5 separate regions of the Homo sapiens genome follow, and all the other regions are linked to region 2. The links are contacts of gene promoters, found by promoter capture Hi-C in blood cells and fetal thymus (Javierre and others, 2016). All regions are on one chromosome and are shown on one strand. The core of a region is centred on a gene start or on the middle of the fragment in contact, and the rest is flanking DNA. Distances in the headings are between cores, read along the strand shown.

Region 1 (3,867 bases), core at 934-3,433, 160 kb before region 2:
TTGCCAGCAGAGAACTTAAAGTACCAAAGAAGGGCCTAATATTCTTCCCTAATGTCAAATTAAGGCTCCAAAGTGCCTCAGCTTTTTATGATTGTAAATTATCAGTCTGTCTAGATGAATTTTTAGTTAATGTTTTACCTTTGCCACTTATCAGATTAGTGAATTCCATGTGTTTAATACCTGTCCACATTTGTCCCTATCAAGTTTCAAAGTATGCTGTTTAGAAATTAGAACAGTTCTTTGAATTCTGTGTGCCAGTGAAAAGAGCAAGCATGAAGTTGTGCATATGAATTAATAAGTAAATCAGTTTCGTCATAGGTAGGGAGGAAGTTTAATTTGGATGTAGGGAAGGGGCAATAGGATAAGAGCAGGACAACAGAGCATCATTTATGACTGGGGAGCTAATGGAGGGAAGTTGTCCTGTTGGTTGAGAGATGGGTTCTGCAGCCCCTTCTGTGGGCTGGGTAGGCTCCGTGGGCGAGTCTCTTACACATCGTTGTCCTGGATTATCTCCTCTGAGTCCATTCTACAAAGGAGACTCTTAAAAACCGTGTTTTCTACCTATGGTAACAGAGCTGATGAGAGTTTAATTGATGCCTCTTTTAAGGGTTTGAGATTTTTTAATTGGTTTTTGGTGCATTGGGTAATTAACTTCTCAGTGACCAGTTTCCTACATACAGTCATCCTTCAACCCACAGAGGCCCTACCTTTAGGCCTCTGCTCTCTTCCTATGTCCAGCCATCCATGGTATTCCGCACCTCTTCATTCATTTTCTTCTTAATTAACTAAGGATACAGAGAGGAGCACTGCCCCAAGTGTAGTCCTGAGATGCTATCTCATGTTCCTAAATGCAAGAAGGCTGTTGTGTGCCTTAGAGAAATTACATGTGTTAGGTAAGCTGCTTTGAGTTATAGCGCTGTCCTTGAGTTATAGTGCTGTCCATGAGTTATAGTGCTGTGGCCATGAGTTCAATGTTAATGAATCAGCTATATGTTAAATAAGGTGCCTTTAAACAGAAACATGCATCAAACAAGGTTATGCATTGATCAGTTGAAGATGTTTTAGGGGCTCACAGGAACCTAACCCTGTATATCCCCTGTGGACAATGCTTTAGTATTCACTAATTCAGTATTCACAACAGCACAACTATCATGAATAACAAGAATTAAATGTATTTGTCATGTAATGGGCGCTAACACTGGTTGCCACTGACTTTATCAGATTAATTTTGTGCTGTGTATGATGTTTTAAATTTTAAGTTTTATATATTTCTTATATGTGTATATATGAGATGTATAGCCATATATTTAATCTATATGATGTATAGCCACATATTTAATAATTTATATATTTGTGAGTTCTTTATAAATTATTTCAGGGTAAAAAAGGGCATTTAGAAGACTTTGGCTTGTACAATCTGAAACAGTAAAATTTTAAAAATATACATATGTTCCTTGCCAAAATTAACCATATTTTTTACTTTAGTAGCCTTCATTTAGCGTCATCTGATTACTAATTTTAAAATGTATTTGATTTTAAGAAAATTATAGTTCCAAAGATAGAAATTTATTTTACTGATAACTGTTAAGTAAGCCATATATGCTAACTCTGGTCACTCTAATATATACATTTTATGTCACTCTCAGTTTGAAAGCTCCAATGTGTCTTTGCCTTAAAGAATTTTGACTTATCTTTGATTTATAGAGTTTGTATGGCAACTCTCCTGGCTTCCAGAGCCTAACAGACTTACTTGTATAGCTTTTAAAGCTAATCGATTGGCTTTTGATACTTTTGCTGGAGGAATATCTTATTAAAATCAAATGGATGAAGTAGCTAATTGTATTTAACATTTGAAGGGATAAGTGAAAAGAGGAGGAAAAGACTCAAGTTGATTCAAAAGCAAAATGAGAAGAAAAGATAATTGGCATATTCTCCACATCTTTCCTCTGATCAACCACATAGGAGACAAAACAAATTAGAGACTTGTCTTTGAACAGGAAGCAGATGTGCCGAGCATATTTTTACTTCAGATTTTGTTAACTATTTTATCTTTAGATACTGATTTTTGTCTAGAGGAGAGTGTTGGAGCAACTAAAATGGAACTCATAACTTCAGCTCTTGATGGAAGTTTCCTTGATGCCTGGCACTTTATGCTGTATTAATGCCAGGAAATAAATTTTATTTCCTCCTGTCTTTAGGCAAGCTGTTATTCCTCTAATGCACAGTCACTTTTAACTTAGATTTTTGAGAAACAAGGAAAAAAGATTTAATCTTTGAGACCAGTTGTTGGCTAAGGCAGGCGTTTGAGCATCCCAGTTACTTGTCATTCAGCAGCTGTGTGGGAAAATGTAAGCTACATTGTTGAACAGATTTTGTAAAGGAAAAAATTTATTTCTTGATTTATTTGGTACAAATGTCTCTTTACTCAAAAAATCTTTACAAATGGTTATTGGGCATTCAGTCATTTGCTTAGCACTCTGTAATTTTATAAAGTGATTTCCATCAGGTGCCTTTCACAGAAACCCTGAAGGTCAGGGGAAATCATAATTTCCTTGATGAGAAAGCTGAGGCATAGAGAAGCTCCTTGTTAGGAGGCTTTGCCTCTGATTTCCTGGTCAGCTTCATAGGTTTTTTGCTTTTTTATTTTTGTTCTTTTTAACTTTTTTAATATCCTTGCCTTACTGCTGTGGAGAATGATTTCTATTTTGCAACAGCTTATGTTTTTCTCCTGTGTACAGGGATATTCCAATGCCTTTAGTTAGCTCAGGAGTAGAGCATGGTAACCTGAGAGAGCTGGCACTTGCAAGAATGAAAGACCTCGGAATACAGGTAAGAGCAAATATGGCGGTCAGGCCACAACTGTTGAGAAAAAGAGAAATCTGAAACACGAAAGACTTTGCCACTACCACCCCTAAAACCAGACTTGCGGGTCAGGTCAGAAAGCTCCCAGATGTTGAAAGCATAGTCACTGAACTGTGTCGGAGCTGAAGCCAGTGGTGCAGGGGCTGCCTCCTTTTCCTTCATTCCCTTCTGCTTTCTTCTGCCTGCTCAGATTGCCAACTGTGTGCCCCACTCCAGTTTTTAAAAACAGTTTTTCTTTTGAAGTATTAGGTATTCAGTTATTGACTGAAGGAAAAGGAGACGTGAATCCTGAAAGGAAAGTATAATCATTTGAAAAGACAAGTATTATGTGCATGAAATAATTGCCAAAACTGCTATTGCCCCACATATACCAGTCTCCTATCCCTCTGGCCATTGAAGTCCCTTCTTCGCTCACAGATATTTACTAAACATCTCCTCTGTGCTGGCCCAGGATATACAAAGAGCCCAAGAACCTGCAACTTAACAGTCTCTGTGGGAAATTCTTAAGTCATAGGAAGGTTTAAAACTCCAGTGCTCAGGAACTTCTTAGAGCTGCTAAAGGGATAAACCAGGAGTGGTGTTGAGACCAAGGGCCGACTCCTGGGCTCTGCCTTCATAGATTCTGGATCAGTAGATTGGGATGGGACCTATCTGTTTGTTATCCAGCACTAGGTACATGGTTCTCATGCACAATTCAGATTTGGGCCACACTTTGAAAGACATGGTTCCAAGGATTGCATATGGTGTTTGTGGACTTAACCTAAGACATTTTATTCTCTCACTCAAATTATTAGGGAGAAAATGTTTCAGAAGATTGTTCAGGGGAGAGTTTGTGAATATTATTGGCATATTCTACCAAAAAAAAAGTGAACAATTTTATGTTCCAGAAAAATAGCAAAGGACACCAAACAAGATTGTGTGCCTGCTTTGCCTCCAAGGCTCCAGCTGTTTGTGTTCTCCATCTCCTCTCGCCTCCAAGAAGGCCACTGACCTTCAAGAAGGCCA
Region 2 (3,861 bases), core at 566-3,065:
GGCAACCCTTGGTCAATGGGAAATGTAGTCTTTTAGCTAAGTGCATTGATGCCTGGAATAAAATCAAGGGTACCGTTTAGTAAGGAAGAACAGGGAAATGGGGATTGGGTAGGCAGCCTGCAATATCTGCCACATCATGTATGAAATCAGGTTCCAGGCCTGAGACACTGAAGTACATCAGGATGCAAAAGTGACCCCGTGTCAGTCAGTGAACATGCTGGTTTCCCAAAGAGTCCAAAATGGTAGCTGCGACCTGCAGTGTAAGGTTTGGGCAACAGAGATCTAAGTGAAGAATCATGAGTATGCTGGTCTCCTGAGCCCTTTTGCTGTGAACACAGACGGAAGGGAAATTTTATTCTCAGAACCTGTTGCTCTTAACCTGAGCAGATGTTTGCTGTCTTTTTCCTATTTTCTTTTTATGGAGATGTAATTCCCATAACATAAAATGCACCATTTTAAAGCATACAATTTGGTGGGTTTTAGTATTCTTGCTATGTTGTGCAACCATCACCTCAGTCTAAATCCAGAACATTTCCATTACCCCAAAAAGAAACCCTATACCATTTGCAGTCAGGGCAGATGCTTCCCTCAATCCTTCTCCACCCAGTCCTGGGTAGACCAGAGAGCTGGACTTAACCACATGAATGAGTGCTTGAGCTCCTTGGATGACATAGGTTCAAACCCTGGGATTCTGGAATATTTTAGACCCTCTTAGGAAAACCAAGGACAGGGTCATGGTGAAATTCACCTAAGGTAAGGAAACGTGGGGTCCACAAGGATGCTAAACCCTCAAGCCTGTGCCTTCAGCCTGTGAGCTCCTTTCCTGCAGCCCACAACCCCCGGCGGCTGTAGAAGACAAAGAGGCTCTGCAGTAAGGGACAGGGAAGCTTCCAGAGCTTCTGAGCCTCCAGGGCCCTCGGTAGTGATGCCCTAAGTTGCAGAAGCTTTAAAAGCTCTCTGTTGTGACACCAGACACTGATATGGGATTTCTACATCCAGGTGGTACTAATCAGTGTGAAAAGCGGGCTGAGAGGAGAGGGAGGATGCAGCACATTCATTAAGGGCCTCGTGTGTTGTAGATTCAAACAGAATCTCCTTTTTCTACTCACAACCATCCTGGGCAGTATTAGACTCATTTTCCGGAAGGAGGACTTGAGGTTCACAAAGAGATGTGCCTTGCTCTGACTGTACAGCCGAATTTCAGACACTTCCATCTGAGCCTCGAGTCTCAGCATTCTCCATTGCACCATGCTGTGGGCACCTGTGGAAATGCCTCCTGACCTGGCCCAGGGCAGGTGCAGCCACCTCTTGAGTGGCCTAGTTAGGGGCAATGACATTAGGTCAGGGCTTGGCTTAGCTCAGCCCTGGGCTCCTCCGAGTCGGTAGGAGCTTGGCATGAGCTCCCCTCCCTTCTGCCTGCCTCCTATTCTTCACTCCTCAGGCAAAAAGGTTGCTCAAGGAGACTCCAGGATTTGGGGTCTGCCTCGTCACTGTCACCAGGAGGCTTTTTTTCTGACTTGCCAGAGCTCCCCATCAGTCCTCACAGAGCCTCTGGAAGCACAGGGAAGGCAGCTGTGGGATCCTGGCTGAACAGAGTCCAGGTGAAGCAGGCTTGAGAATGGATTGATGGGGAGGTGGGGATGTCACAGGTCTGATGGCAGAGCCGGGGGAAGGGAACAGCCAGGAAGGCTTGCAGGTTCTGCTGTTTGGTTGCTGAAGGGGGTCAGTGTGTGTATGTGTCATGGAGGTGGGCAGGGAAGGGGAGGGCTGTGCGTGGGGGAGAGGATATATATGCTGGTGTGGCTGAGAAAGCGGAACCGAGCCTCGCATCCATCGGAGGGAGCCGGGGACTGACAGCTCTCAGGTAGGCAACTGCACGGGGCCCCCAGCCCGACCGCGACTAACTGGACTAACTGCGTGGAGCTCCGGGAGGGCAGGGCCACCAGGGGCTGGCTCCTCGGCCTCTCTCCTTTGTCCAGTGTGGATGCTGCTGGCCTCTTGCGAGATGGTTTCTTCATTCATCTCCTTTGTAGCGCTTGGATGGTGGGGAACGGGGGAGGGCTGAGTCTCTTTTTTAACCTCAGACAGACGCAGAAGCAGAAAGAGGGGAACTTGGAAATGAGGAAAAGTTTTGCTTCCCCAGCTGTGGCCCCTACGTGGTTGTTGCTCTGTGTCGAGAGGAGGCTGCTGGAGGAGTGAGGCCAGAGGAGGGGCAGGCACTTGGGAGGGGGTTTGCCTTCCACGGGGCGGCCCCCAGGAAGACCCTGGCCCCCTCATGAGGGTTTCCTCTCAGTGGCTTCCTTTCCTCTCAGATGCGGTGCGCAGGCTGCTTCTCCGCCTATCACTGAACTTGATGCCATCCAGATGGGAGTTTTTAATCCGGAGGGAGCCCTTCTCCCTTCTGCCCCCAGCAGAAATTGCTACAAATAATGGGGAAGCGCCAGATCTGGGGAGTGTGCTTCACCTGTATACACACACTGCTGAGCGCCACGGCGTGTGAATTCCAGAGAGCATTTCTACGGGCGTGACCTTGGTCTCCCAGAACCCGATTCATTTAGAGGGCTCTTCTCTTGCTTGGCATCCCTCTCCCCCTGCCCATCTCCCCCACCTAAAGGTCTTTGCCCAGGTCATGCAGAATACTCCGTTCATAGTCACCGCATCCCAACTCTCGAGGCTCTCTCAGCCACCTTCTTTCTTCCTCCTCTCTTTGTGCATCTCTCTCCCTCGAGTCTTGCTTCCCCGGCTTCACTACCCAGCCCCTCCTCCCCGAATCTCGCTCTGAACATGGGCAAGTTCTGGGGGAATTTCAAGTAAGGCAGGATGATTCGGGAAATGGACTATTTAAAGCAAGCTGCTTTGGACTTGAATACCCCCATCCTGCGCTTAAACATCTGTGTTTAGCTTCCTCAAGCAGCCCATAATTGCCCCAATTATAACCAATAACATTGTTCGGCAGACTAACAAAAGATGAGCTTTGCACGGCATTCGCCAGCAAGCCCAAACCAGAGTTTTCAACATAGATGGGAAAAGTAACTGCCTGGCTTCTTATCAAAACCTCCCAAAGCAAATACTGCTCTTTTTCGCTGCTTGTGGGTGGCTACTGCATGCAGCCTCTTTTTTTCTCATTTGTAAAGTGTGGCAGGGAAATATTCTACAAGCTTACACTGAGGCTATGTTACCTTTAACAAAAAGGATTCGTGCTCCTTTGGGCTTGCTGAGTCTTCTGCAGAGGAGGGTCCCTGGAAAACCCATCCCCAACCATCACCACCTCTGTAAAAGCATGTGCCGCCTGGTGCTGCCTGGCGAGGGCGCTGTGGTACAGCCTCGGGTCATTTTGAGGGCGCAGTTTTGTTGCGCACAGGGCAGCAGCCCCTGCTTTATCAGCTGAAGGCTGAGAGTACTTACGGATTTGTAAAATGCAGGCGAGTTTGCATTGTCAGTGAAGGGAGTGATTGCAGGATTAGGCTCAAACCTGTGCTCCCTGGAGCCTATGACAAGAGCTGTCACTAAGCTATCCTGTATTCAATCAATCAGGTAGTTACCGTCTACACTCCACCAGGCAGGGAGGCTTGCAGGGGCTCTAGTAGATTCAGCAGAGGTGATAATAACAGCACTTTACATTTGTACAACGATTTAGGCGCTTTCACACCTATTATCCCAGCAACAGCCCTGTGAGGTGGTGCCATTATCTCGGTGTTGCAGTTGGAGAAACTGAAACTGAGAGATTAAATGATTTATTCAGTACATGGCAGGGTCAGGACTGAGCCAAGGCATTGTGGCTCCAGTTCATCTCCCCGTTACGGTCAGGGGTGCTTATGAACTCATAGTGGGGTCGGGGGTAGAGGAGAGACGTAACACAAA
Region 3 (3,935 bases), core at 663-3,162, 220 kb before region 2:
CAAAGTTGAGAATATGCAATTCTTCACTGTCTGTTGCATTCCATTTCAATGCCTTTGCCTAGTGGCCAGGGTCCCCTGTAATCTGTTCTTTATTACACCCTGTTAGAAAGCTGGATTTTAGTTAGGCTGTGCTGTTTCACACAAAGATAGGTAATTCCTATGCCTGACATTATTTCTTCTGGATTGCCTTCTGTTTTGCATGTCCAAATCTTGCCCTATCTTTAAAGATCCCTGTGCCATTTCCTTCATGAAGTCTTTTCCTACTCATTTACTCTTCCAGTTCTTGATACACTCAAGAGCTATACAAGTGGTTTCCAAATCTTATCTGTTCTTATCAGCCGATCCCCTTTTACCCTCCAAATAAATTCTTACACAGAACCTCAATATATAAACAGCTGAAAGCAGAGCTGCTGTGGTGGAAATAAAGAGACCTCCTCCTTTTTTTCCTCCATGCCTTATTTTCCTCTTCCCTTCTCCCTTCCTCTGCCATGACCACCACCAGTCCTACCTCTGTTGCATGGCCCCTGAGGCACCTTTGTAGAACTCTGGAAGTGCTGAGTTACATGGTTTGGAAAGCATTTAGCCTTTGAGTATAGATGGACTTTATTTCTCTCAAAAATTGTTGTGTATATGTTAGCCTTGCCTCATTAAATTAGATGCAGTGTGTTACAGTGAAAAAAGCATGGAAGTTGTGGTGAAAAGAGCTGGATTTGAGTCTTGGCTCTGCTGTTTACGATAGCTTGTTAACTTGCCTTAGCCTCATTTTTCACATCTATAAAATGGGATAACAGTACCTACCCTCCGTGTTACTGTAAGGGTTCAAATGAGATAAAGTAAATGTGTGGGCTCCATAATTGCCAGGGCCTTCCATCCACGCTTTCATTATGTTTTAGCTTTCTCTGCAGTGTGAGTCCTCAGCCCCCTGGGCCACGGACCAGTACCGGTTCATGGCCTGTTAGGAGCTGAGCCAGACAGAAGAAGGTGAGCAGCAGGCGAGCAAGTGAAGCTTCATCAGTATTTGCAGCCACTTCCCATCACTCATGTTACTGCCTAAGCTCTGCCTCCTGTCACATCAGCAGTGGCATTAGATTCTCAAAGGAGTCTGAACCCTGTTGTGAACCGTGCATGTGGTGGGTCTAGGTTGTGTGCTCCTTATGAGAATCTAATGCCTGATGATCTGTCACTGTCTCCCATCACCCCCAGATGGGAGTGTCTAGTTGCAGGAAAACAAGCTCAGGGTTCCCACTGATTCTATGGGAACAGAATTCGTTATGGTGAATTGTATAATTATTTCATTACATATAACAATGCAGTAATAAAAATAAAGTGCACAATAAATGTAATGCACTTGAATCATCCTAAAACCACCCTGCTCCCCTGGTCTGTGGAAAAATCATCTTCCATAAAACCAGTTCCTTTTATCAAAAAGGTTGGGAACCACTGCTCTACAGGTGAGAAGCTTGCTTGCTGACAGCTTCCAAGCTGATATCCCACAGCTTTTGTCCCTGGAAAAAGACTGGCATTTTTTACCTTGAAGAAAAGAGCTCAGATTGGCCTGGCTTAGAGATATGCCCATCCTTGAACCAATCCTTGAACTGTGCTTGAGTGGATGGCGTCATACAAGAACCTGTCAGCTTCTGCTGTTGCCTTTGGATGAGACCGAGAGCCCCAGTTGCCAGAAGTTCATGATGGTGGACAGACAATATTTTAGAAATGCATTAAGATTCTTAGGCAGATACCTGGGTTTGAGTTTCAACTTTACTCCTTGATAGCATCTTCATGTAACAGGCACATATTCTTGTTCTGTCTACCTCTGTTCTGAGAATTACCTGAATTCATGCATCTAAATGTTCTTTATGAACTCTAAAGTATTATGCACATATTAGTAATTACACCTCTGGAGATAAAGGGAAGAGAATTACTTTGGTCCTTTCCTGTGTGATTAAGTTCTTTCTCCTCACATTGTTTCTACTCCTGTATCCTTTCCTGTATTTATTTTTAATAATCTCATAGAGTATGTGCTTCTAAAGGGAGCTTTTCCCATATATATGTAAAGCCACGTTTGTTTTAAAGATACAAAAGATATGATCAAATTGTAAACAGTAGAGATTTAGCATCTTCTGAACTTGAGCTATTCATTTGGCATATTTGTATGGTTTCGGATGGAAAACTGCTACTAAATCAGATTTTAAAATCTTGATTGAATGATACGATTTTTGACATTGTTGAATATTAACTTTCCAGGAGATCTCAGCCCTGCTGAGCTGATGATGCTGACTATAGGAGATGTTATTAAACAACTGATTGAAGCCCACGAGCAGGGGAAAGACATCGATCTAAATAAGTAAGTGGATATAAAGAGAGAGCAAGCTTGTTCTTAGGTAGCAGATCTCTTTTATGAAATTATCTAGTACTACTTGTTTTCCAGCTCAAGTTTTATTTTAGTTGAGAATTTTAGCTTTCTGCCTTGCCTTGTCATTCATTTCTTTTTTTTTTTTTGCAAGTTCCGCCTCTGGGGTTAACGCCATTCTCCTGCCTCAGCCTCCTGAGTAGCTGGGACTACAGGCGCCCGCCACCACGCCTGGCTAATTTTTTGTATTTTTAGTAGAGACGGGGTTTCACCGTGTTAGCCAGGACGGTCTCGATCTCCTGACCTCGTGATCTGCCCACCTCGGCCTCCCAAAGTGCTGGGATTACAGGCGTGAGTCACCGCACCCGGCCGTCATTCATTTCTTGATGGCAAAATTGTCTCAGCTTAAGAATACTAATAGCTTCTAACATTTATTGGGCACTTACTGTATTCCAGACACTGTTGCTAATGCATTGTATGTATTAGCTCAGTTAATCCCCTCAAAATTCTGTGAGATAGGTACTGATACCAGCCACACTTGACAGGTGGGTAATCTGAGTCAGAGAGCAGTTAAATAATTTGTCCAGGGGTAAGTAACTAGTAATTGGCAGAGCTGGGATTTGGAATTAGGTCAGCCGTCTCCAGAGCCCATGTTCTTCTGTGCTGCATCGCTGCACATCCTACTTTCCTTCCCTACTGTCTCAGCTGAAGCAGCAGCTTTCTGTCAGGAAAACCCTCCCTTTGGGGCCCCTGATCTAATCCAACCCTCCCCTGCTGTAGAACCTCTTTGACACATTCATCCACTTCCTCTCCATAATCATTTTCAGCTTGGACTTTCCTACAGTCTCAAATAAGAGTTGTCTTTCATCTCTGCATCTATTTTTTTTTTCAAACTATAATATATATTCACTCTATGTAGATCTTCCCTAATGAAAGGGTTCTCTCCCCAACCCCAGGTCGTCTAATCATCACATACAGGAATGACCTTTTCTTAGACTCTCTTCTCTGATACTTGAGATGCTGCAATATTTTACCCCTTCCTTGAATCCTCATGCTTAGTAAATATTTGCTACAGGAATAAGTAAATATCCTCTTTTGACTATAAAGTTATTGTATTTTACTGATTTTTCTACCGTGTCTTTAGAAGTTTTTCTTTCTTTTTTTGTTGGTTATACCCCTGATTATACAAATCTTTAATTTCTAGTGAACATTTCTACATCTTATATATATTTGTTGTTCTCTTTAATTTAGCACATCTAAAGCTAAAGCTGCCATCGTCCTTAAAACTCGCCCCTCCTCAGATGTCACCAGCCTATTACTGGAAGGTCTCTCAGTCTGGCTTCAACCTGCTTTTCCAAGTTTTTAAACCTCTGTACCTTTACATTGAAAATCTTCTGCTTTCTGTCAAGTTGGTCTGCTTGTATTTCTTAAAATATATGCATTCCTGTTTTTGCATCTGCACATAAATCAGCCTGTCTGCCCTCCATGTCATCTTTGTGTCTTTAGTGACTGAGACCTACTCTTTCTTCTGTGCTCATTTCCATGAATATCTCCCCAGCACACATCAGATTCCTCCCTGAACTCT
Region 4 (4,335 bases), core at 1,542-4,041, 240 kb before region 2:
CGTATGAAATGCTAGGCATCATATTATCACAGTGAGCACTGGAAGCAAAACAAAATGTATGATACAACCAGTGAACAAATCCATGGTCGACCTCCAGGACAGCTGGTGTGCTGGAATTCAAATTCTAGGAGGAAACAGTGGAGCCGGATAAAGTACAAAAGAACTGATAGACCAAGTTGATAAGAGTCGTGGTCATACAGACACTAAGATTAGGGACCTTCAATTGAGAGAGCTGTGGATTAAAGGGCACAAAATCAAAGGGCCTTGAGTTTAGAGCAGAAGCAGCTGTGGTCACTGAATTCTGGAATACGGGTAGTAGTTTTGGCTTCTTTCAGAATCACAAGAACTTTAGTTCATTTGACTTCATTTACTAAATCAACAGTACACAGTGTCCAGCAAGGGCCGTTAGCATGTAACTAGCTGGGGTTGGTTTGGGTTTAGCTGCATGCAATGAAGACAGAAAACCACACAACTTCCTCCGTAGCAGCATCTATGGTTTCTGTATACAAGTAATTTGTGAACTCTAACTGAAATTTGGAATCATTGGAAATTATGTGGTTTGGTTGTGGTGGATTGGGCTTCAAATTCCTTTGGCCAATGTTCAAAGACTGGCAGGAAGGGATCATTTGATGACCAAACAAAAACACTAGCAAATGGAAAGGGATCATTTGCAAAAAGGCTAAGAGGACAGAAGAAAATAAACACCAAGTACATAAAAAGGAAAAGCGATAAACAAATGGGGGTAGTTTGGTACAGACATTCAGTATATAGTCATTGGGTTGAACTAAATGATGAGGTGGGAAGAACATTAGGCTGGAAATCTGGTGTGGAAGCTTCCAGCTCCAGCTTTACCACCCATCAATAAAGCTGGAGGACTTAAGACAAGTCGTTTTATCACCCTGGCCTCAGGTTTCCCATGTGTAAGGCAAAGACTGAACTAGTCCTTAAAGTGTGAGTGTTCTCTGATTTAGATGGGTGCTAAAAAGACACAAATTCTCATTTTGAAAATGTCACCTGTCATTGAAACTGAGACCGTACCAATGATTAGGGCTTCCGTGTGGCCAAGAGCAGTACACCAAGAGCACTGTGATTTCAAGTGCATTGTATTAAGGAGAAAATGAGCTACAGGAGTATAGTCCTTCTTCAAATCATCCTGCAGTCTATTTCCCCCCAAAGGGAAGGAATGGTGGTGTTCATTGTGAAAATTTGGTTTCTGTGGAGAAGCAATTGATAACAGTCCAAATTTATTGCTCAGATAAGCAAGGTTCTGCCTGTGTGGTTTATTTTGCTTGTATTTCAGCTATGTGGTTAGCACTGAAGTTTTGCTTTTAGTGCTTATTTACATTCATGTGCACTGAACCTAAGAATAGCATCTTTTAAATAAGACTGTGCACATTCAGCTAGATATAGGAAGGCTGCACAGAACTGATTTCCTGATAAATAATTGTAACTTTTCACAGTTATTCTTGCTTCTCTCCCCCTCCTTTTCTTCTGTTTGTGTTTGCTTATTGTTTTTTTTCTTACAGGAAAATCACAGAGGCAACACAAACGCAGGTCATTCCTGTACTAGAACAGCTGCATATCATGGCATTGAATAAAGAATGCGGGCCGGGTGCGGTGGCTCTCGCCTGTAATCCCAGCACTTTGGGAGGCTGAAGCAGGTGGATCACAAGGTCAGGAGTTTGAGACCAGCCTGACCAGCATGGTGAAACCCCATCTCTACTAAAAATACAAAAATTAGCCCGGTGTGGTGGCACGCGCCTGTAATCCCAGCTACTCAGGAGGCTGATGCAGGAGAATTGCTTGAACCCAGGAAGTGGAGGTTGCAGTGAGCCGAGATCACGCCACTGCCAGCCTGGGCAACAAAGCGAGATTTCGTCTTAAAAAAAAGAATGCTAGGGCCCCTTCTTCTACAGATCCAGACCCTGAGGACCAGGAAGGGGAAGAAACTTGTCCAAGGTCACATAGTAAGATTATGGCAATGAGGGCTGAAACTCAGTTTTCCTGACTCCAAGTTCAATGTTCTTTTCATCACATTCAGCAGCCTCTAATAGGCACTATTTAAACAAGCCCCCTGGAGCTCAGGCATAGGGCAATGGAAGGAGTAGTGCCCGCAAAGGAGGGTTCCCTCAAATGCATGGCAAAGGCATTTCATGAGAAGGAAGGCTGTTGAGTGGGGAGAGAGAGTAGCAACTTGATAGAATTGTATGCAGGAACTGAAGCTGAAGCTACTGCCTGCAAACTGCTTTTTTGTTTTTGTTTTTGTTGTTCTTTGTTTTTTTGTTTGTTTGTTTGTTTGTTTTGAGATGGAGTTTTTGCTCTATCGCCCAGGCTGGAGTGCAGTGGCACATGATCTCAGCTCACTGCAACCTCCGCCTCCCAGGTTCAAGCGATTCTCCTGCCTCAGCCTCCCGAGTAGCTGGGATTACAGGCACCTGCCACCATGCCCGGCTAATTTTTGTATCTCTAGTAGAGACAAGGTTTCACTATGTTGGCCAGGCTGGTCTCGAACCCCTGACCTCAGGTGATCTGCCTACCTTGGCCTCCCAAAGTGCTGGGATTACAGGCATGAGCCACCATGCCCAACCTTACTGCCTGCAAACTTGAAGACACCCTCAGAAGTAAAACAAGCCAGAGAGAGAGAGAGAGACTATCAGAGGAATACATTTTCACTGCATTTTTTCTGTGTTCAATGCAAAATTCAATGTGTTTATTACAAATGACAAATGTCCTTTTCTTTTCCCCTAGTTATTCTCCTTAGGCAGAATCTCATTTCACCCTACCTTGCCTCGCATCATTAACCCTTGCCAACACTATTTACTTACTTAAATTTAAATGCTTAAATTAGCAAAGTTTCTCAAAGGGGCATTTTGGTCATTAACATTGGTTTACTCTCTACTTTTAATAAATATGGGAAGTACTTGGTACACAGCAAGCACTAAATAATTTGTTGAATGAATGATGATAGATATAATTTTTTGTATCTATATCTAGATAGATCTATCTAGATCTAGATATAGATATATATCTTAGATGGTAAGATCAAGAATAGCAGAAATTATATTTACTATTTTATTTATCCATCCATTCATTCAACAAATATTTGTGAGTGCCTATGATGCACCAGGCACTGTTCTAGATACTGGGGGTACAGCAGGAAACAATGTGGTCACAGTATCTGCAAACAAAGGGCTTCCATATTCCAGATGTGAATGGTGGAGCAAAAATTATTAGGGATTTGGAGTCAGAATGCCTGGATTTTTGCTCCTGCTCCCAATCTTCAATGCAACACAGAGCAAATCACCTGATCTCTCTGAGCCTCTATTTCTCCACATATAGGATAGAATTGGTTTTAAAAAAAATACCTGTATCAAGAATTCATTGGCCAGGCATGGTGGCTCATGCCTGTAATTCTAGCACCTTGGGAGGCCAAGGTGGGCCGATCACTTGAGGTCAGGAGTTCGAGACCAGCCTGGTCAACATGGTGAAACCCTGTCTCTACTAAAAATACAAAAATTACCTGGGCATGGTGCAGCATGCCTGTAATTCCAGCTGCTTGGGAGACTGAGGCAGGAGAGTCACTTGAAGCCAGGAAACAGAGGTTGCAGTGAGTTGAGATCGCACCACTGCACTCCAGCCTGGGCAACAGAGCGAGACTCCACGTCAAAAAAATAAAAAATAAAAAAGAGTTCGTTGTGAGAATTAAATGTGATAATGAATGCAAAATTGCTCTGCAGGCACTTATGCATCTGTACAAATGTTATTTTTTGAATATTTTATGAAGGTAGTTAAACTAGAAATCAGTACTAGTGTCATCCAGGCCACGTCTGTTAGTCTTTGGGGAACAGATGCCACCTTAGCTGAGATTCTGACTCCCGTTCTTGTCCCTATTGATCAAACACATTGAGGATGCTCTACCATCTTCCTTAAAGAATCTTCGATCAGCTGGGTGCAGTGGATCACACCTGTAATCCCAACATTTTGGGAGGCTGAGCCGGGCAGATCATGAGGTCAGGAGTTTGAGACCATCCTGGCTAACTCGGTGAAACTCTGTCTCTACTAAAAATACAAAAAATTAGCCAGCCGTTGTGGCACATGCCTGTAGTCCCAGCTACTCAGGAGGCTAAGGCAGAGGAATCGCTTGAACCCGGGAGGCGGAGGTTGCAGTGAGCTGAGATCATGCCACTGCACTCCAGCCTGGGCAACAGAGTGAGACTCCATCTCAAAAAAAAAAAAAACAATCTTTGGTCAAGTTTTTTCTTGCTCTCACAAGAAGGTGAGCTGAAGAATGAAAGAAGGAAGAGGAGGAGACTGTTAATGAAATGATAGAATGTT
Region 5 (3,814 bases), core at 335-2,834, 180 kb before region 2:
TGATGTCCTGGAAAGAAGTGAATGGTGGTGATTGGTGACTGATTGGAAGTGAGGATAAGAGAGAATGGGAAGTCAAGGAGGCTTGGAGAGAATGTGGGTTTCATTTGGCTACACTAAGTTTCAGATACCTGTAGAATAGCCAAGTGAAGGTTTGCTTTAGAGCAGGGCTAGGCAATAGACAGTTCAGCAGTGATCAAAATGTTCTGTGCCTGCAACTGAGTTTTCCATTTTAATTCTTCTAAATATAAATTTTAATAACCACATGTGCCTAGTGGCTGTCATTTTAAATAGTGCTGCTTTAAAGTATTGGTTATTTGGGTTTGGAATTCATGAGAGAGGCCTGGCCTTGTCCTAGGAATTGGGAAGTCATCAGCAAAAAGACATTAGAAATTGAAGCCATGGAAATGGTTGGGAGCATTCTGAGAGAGTGAGATGGAGTCTGTGGTTTCTAGGATCCTTCTGCCGTGAATGGGAACACCTTCGTGGCAGAAGGATAGCCACAAGACTTCAGTTTAGTTGCCCAAAACTATTGTTAGGACTTGTTTCCTGCTGGATTGGCTCTAGAATGCCAAGTTAAGATGATTTATCCACGTGACCCCAAATGACTCTGCCTTCTCACTAAGTCATTCTCTCTTTCTACTGTTATTTAAGGATCCTCCAAACCCACCAGTGAAATCTATTTTGTATCATAGGTTTCACTCTTCCTCCCTGTCTACAAATAATTTCACAAGATCTTTAAAGGAAAGAACATAGCAGCTTGCTGCTTCTGCATGGTTTTGAGCTCATTTTAATTTTTAATACAGGTATTTACATTCATAAGCTTATTTTGACTGGTGATGCTAAACCAAATAATTTTAATACACATTAACTTTTGCCATCCCAATGCTTTACTTTCAAGACTTTAAGTAGATGTGTAAGAGAATTTCTGAGAAATATCTCAGAAATAAAGTTATTTACTTCCAGGCCTCCTGAGAGGTGGGGATGTAAAAAATGACTTTCTGAGATGTCTTTTCCCCCAGCCATATGATTTTGGTTATGGAACTTCTGTTACCTGTCTCAGAGATTGTTTTCCCCTTGTTCCTTGTGTTAACTTTGTCACCCATTTATTTGTGTAACAGATGTTACACAAATAGGTAGTGATTTTCACAGGTAGTGATTTTCTTTCCTTAGGGGCCACACTGTGAAGGCAGTGTGTGAGTCATTTCACCTGGCCAAAGATTCCGGTTTTAAAGTGGTGGCCCATATGATGCCTGACCTGCCAAACGTGGGACTAGAAAGAGACATTGAACAGTTCACAGTAAGTGTGACTTCAGCCAGGCGCATTCAGAATGGCTCTGCATGTTTCTTATCCCATCTGGTCTTGTTGCTTGTTCACTGTTGATGTTTTCCAGTGTTAAAGAAATGCATCCTTATTATAGAATATTAGAAACACAGTAGGGTAAGAGACATCACCCATAGCCCCATCAGACAAAACTCTTAACATTTTAATGAATTCTTTCCAAGATTTTTCTATGCATAGGTTTTTTGGGGGGTGAGGTTGTTTATGCAAATATAACACAGACATACAAATATATATGACATAGGAAATTATTGTAATAGTTTTTTCACTTAACATTTTAACAAGCATTTATCCATGTTGTAGCCTGGTCTCTGTTAACATGTTAACATATTTAAATGTCTTTTTAATTTAATATGTCATACCTTGCTTAAACCCTTGCAAGTTTTTCAGAATTTAAGATATACTGGTTTTTTAATATTATTTAAAAAACACTGCAGGTAAATGACTTTATGTGTATAATTTTTTTTAGTATTTAGGTTTATCTGTTTATGATAAATTCCATGGAGTAGAATTATCAGGTAAAGGTAGAAACATTTTAAGAATCTCACTGTATTAATAAGTTGCTTTGCAGAGAGTTATAACAATTTATACTCATTTCAGCAGAGTTTTTCTTCCCAAATAATTCTCTCCTGTTTATTTTCTATATATGCTTATAGATGCATATGCACATATGTACATATATTTTACTGTTTGCTAGTTTGATCAATAAAAGTGCCATTTTAACTTGCATTTTGAAATTGTAATAATACATTTTTCAAGTTTGTATTTACTAATTACATTTCTTTCATCTTTTTGGAATTGTGTGTTTTTATCCTCTGACTCATTATTCTATTGAGATAAGAATATTTTTAGTATTAGTTTATATGAATTTTTTAGGTAAGGAGATTATGGACTCATTGGTTTTTATATTTGTTTTAAATATTTTCCTTAACCTATTGTTGACCTTTTACTTGTGCTTCCATTAAGTCGATCTTTTTTTTCCTTTTTTTTTTTTTTCTTCAAATGCCTCTAAGCTTAGAACTGCCTTTCTGTTCTTTGAATTTTAACTCTGGGTTGTTTTATTGTTGTTATTTTAACTCTCACAGTTTCTTGATCCATGTTAACTTTGTTGTGGGAAATGAGATTGGTCAGGCCTTTTGTTTTTCTTCAGATTCTCCGATAGGGCAAGTGTGTTTTAAGATGATGACGATATTTATCAAGTTATTTCATCTATAAAAGTACTTTTAATTTGCTCTGTTTAGAAAAATGCAGTTTACCATGTCTTATTTGTGAAGTTAATAATTCTTTCCTCTCAAGAAGTTTACTTTTATTATTTTTTAAGCTGGTGAACTGCACCTGAGGACCTGTTTATGAGATAACATTAATTCACAGATATCCCTCTTCGTAATTCCCCCACAATGGATATGTAATAGACTGTGAGTCTAGTATCCTCCCCTCAGTAACTAATAGCCAGGTGCTCAGACACCAGGCCAAAAAGGCACCTGAAACACACTTTTTATTATCATGATTATTATTATTATTATTATACTTTAAGTTCTAGGGTATGTGTGCACAACGTGCAGGTTTGTTACATAGGTATACATGTGCCACGTTGGTTGGCTGCACCCATGAACTTGTCATTTACATTAGGTATTTCTCCTAATGCTGTCCCTCCGCCTGCCCCCCACCCCACGACAGGCCCCGGGGTATGATGTTCCCCACCCTGTGTCCCAGTGTGAAACACACTGTTCTTTAGCACAGCTCCTAGGGAGACCAGTAGGATAGCCAGAACTCATAAAGTTTAAGTGCTCCTGAAAAATATAGTATGTTTCATACTGTAGGAAGCCATAGCAAATAGCTGAGTCTCAGTACATATTTTCCTTGGTGTCTTCAACATAAGGAATAGTTCAGTAATAACATTGCAAGGACAACCTTTCTTGTAAACAGATTTATTTGCTTGTTTGTAGTCTTTGCAGGGAAACTCACAGGGAATATGAGTGGATCATATTTCTTTTCTAACTGCATCCTAGTAAAGAGTAACAGAAGGGAGCTAAAATGAAAAATCTGAGTTCTTTCTAGAGAAGAATTCTCTACAAATTAAATTGTTTTAAAATAAATAAGTTTTAGAAATTGATAAGAGGCAAACAGCTCAGTAGGAAAATGGGCAAAAAACTTGAACAAGCATTTCACAAAAGAGAATATTCAAATAGCCAATAAACCTATCAAAAAGTTCTCAAAGTAATTAATCTTCAAAAAAGCGAAATTTAAAACTACATTTGGTCTCAGTTTTCTACAGCACCTTGGTCTTGTATTGTGGATATAATTTATCTTTTCTTATCTCTCTGAAGAAATTTATTACAGATTTTTTTTATACATTTTATTTTTCTGTATGCATTGCCTCTGTTTCCTCCAAGTGCCTTTTGTTTTCTTTTTGTTTTGGTTGGCCCCTTAATGTACTTGGCTTTCCCCAAGTTTATGATGATCTTCAACCAGTTT

The links. Contacts are between HindIII fragments. The CHiCAGO score rates a contact against its expected background, and 5 or more counts as called.
Region 1: a contact is called between a fragment that was not itself captured here and the fragment with the promoter of PNOC in region 2, in 1 of 17 cell types (M1 macrophages). The highest score is 5.2, in M1 macrophages.
Region 3: a fragment that was not itself captured here is called in contact with the fragment with the promoter of PNOC in region 2 in 8 of 17 cell types (naive B cells, M0 macrophages, total B cells and 5 more); the score reaches 8.5 in naive B cells.
Region 4: a fragment that was not itself captured here is called in contact with the fragment with the promoter of PNOC in region 2 in 16 of 17 cell types (M0 macrophages, M1 macrophages, M2 macrophages and 13 more); the score reaches 19.1 in M0 macrophages.
Region 5: a contact is called between a fragment that was not itself captured here and the fragment with the promoter of PNOC in region 2, in 5 of 17 cell types (M2 macrophages, M0 macrophages, total B cells and 2 more). The highest score is 7.7, in M2 macrophages.

Annotation. Positions count from the first base shown.
Region 1 is chr8:28,153,204-28,157,070 of GRCh38, forward strand. It overlaps ELP3 (elongator acetyltransferase complex subunit 3), which reads left to right. Exons shown (of 15, transcript NM_018091.6): 11 at 2,739-2,829. Among named protein-coding and RNA genes, the nearest start is that of ELP3, 62 kb to the left of the region's middle. The HindIII fragment of the contact is 4,480 bases long and covers 1-3,867 here.
Region 2 is chr8:28,315,453-28,319,313 of GRCh38, forward strand. PNOC (prepronociceptin) reads left to right here and starts at 1,816. Exons shown (of 4, transcript NM_006228.5): 1 at 1,816-1,864. RefSeq lists enhancers at 2,809-3,321, 3,322-3,833. The HindIII fragment of the contact is 2,214 bases long and covers 943-3,156 here.
Region 3 is chr8:28,094,975-28,098,909 of GRCh38, forward strand. ELP3 (elongator acetyltransferase complex subunit 3) reads left to right here. Exons shown (of 15, transcript NM_018091.6): 2 at 2,245-2,344. Among named protein-coding and RNA genes, the nearest start is that of ELP3, 3.8 kb to the left of the region's middle. The HindIII fragment of the contact is 911 bases long and covers 1,458-2,368 here.
Region 4 is chr8:28,077,654-28,081,988 of GRCh38, forward strand. The region is part of intron 1 of NUGGC (nuclear GTPase, germinal center associated); the gene reads right to left. Among named protein-coding and RNA genes, the nearest start is that of NUGGC, 4.1 kb to the right of the region's middle. RefSeq lists an enhancer at 1,441-1,570. The HindIII fragment of the contact is 3,920 bases long and covers 832-4,335 here.
Region 5 is chr8:28,131,108-28,134,921 of GRCh38, forward strand. ELP3 (elongator acetyltransferase complex subunit 3) reads left to right here. Exons shown (of 15, transcript NM_018091.6): 9 at 1,171-1,297. Among named protein-coding and RNA genes, the nearest start is that of ELP3, 40 kb to the left of the region's middle. The HindIII fragment of the contact is 1,532 bases long and covers 819-2,350 here.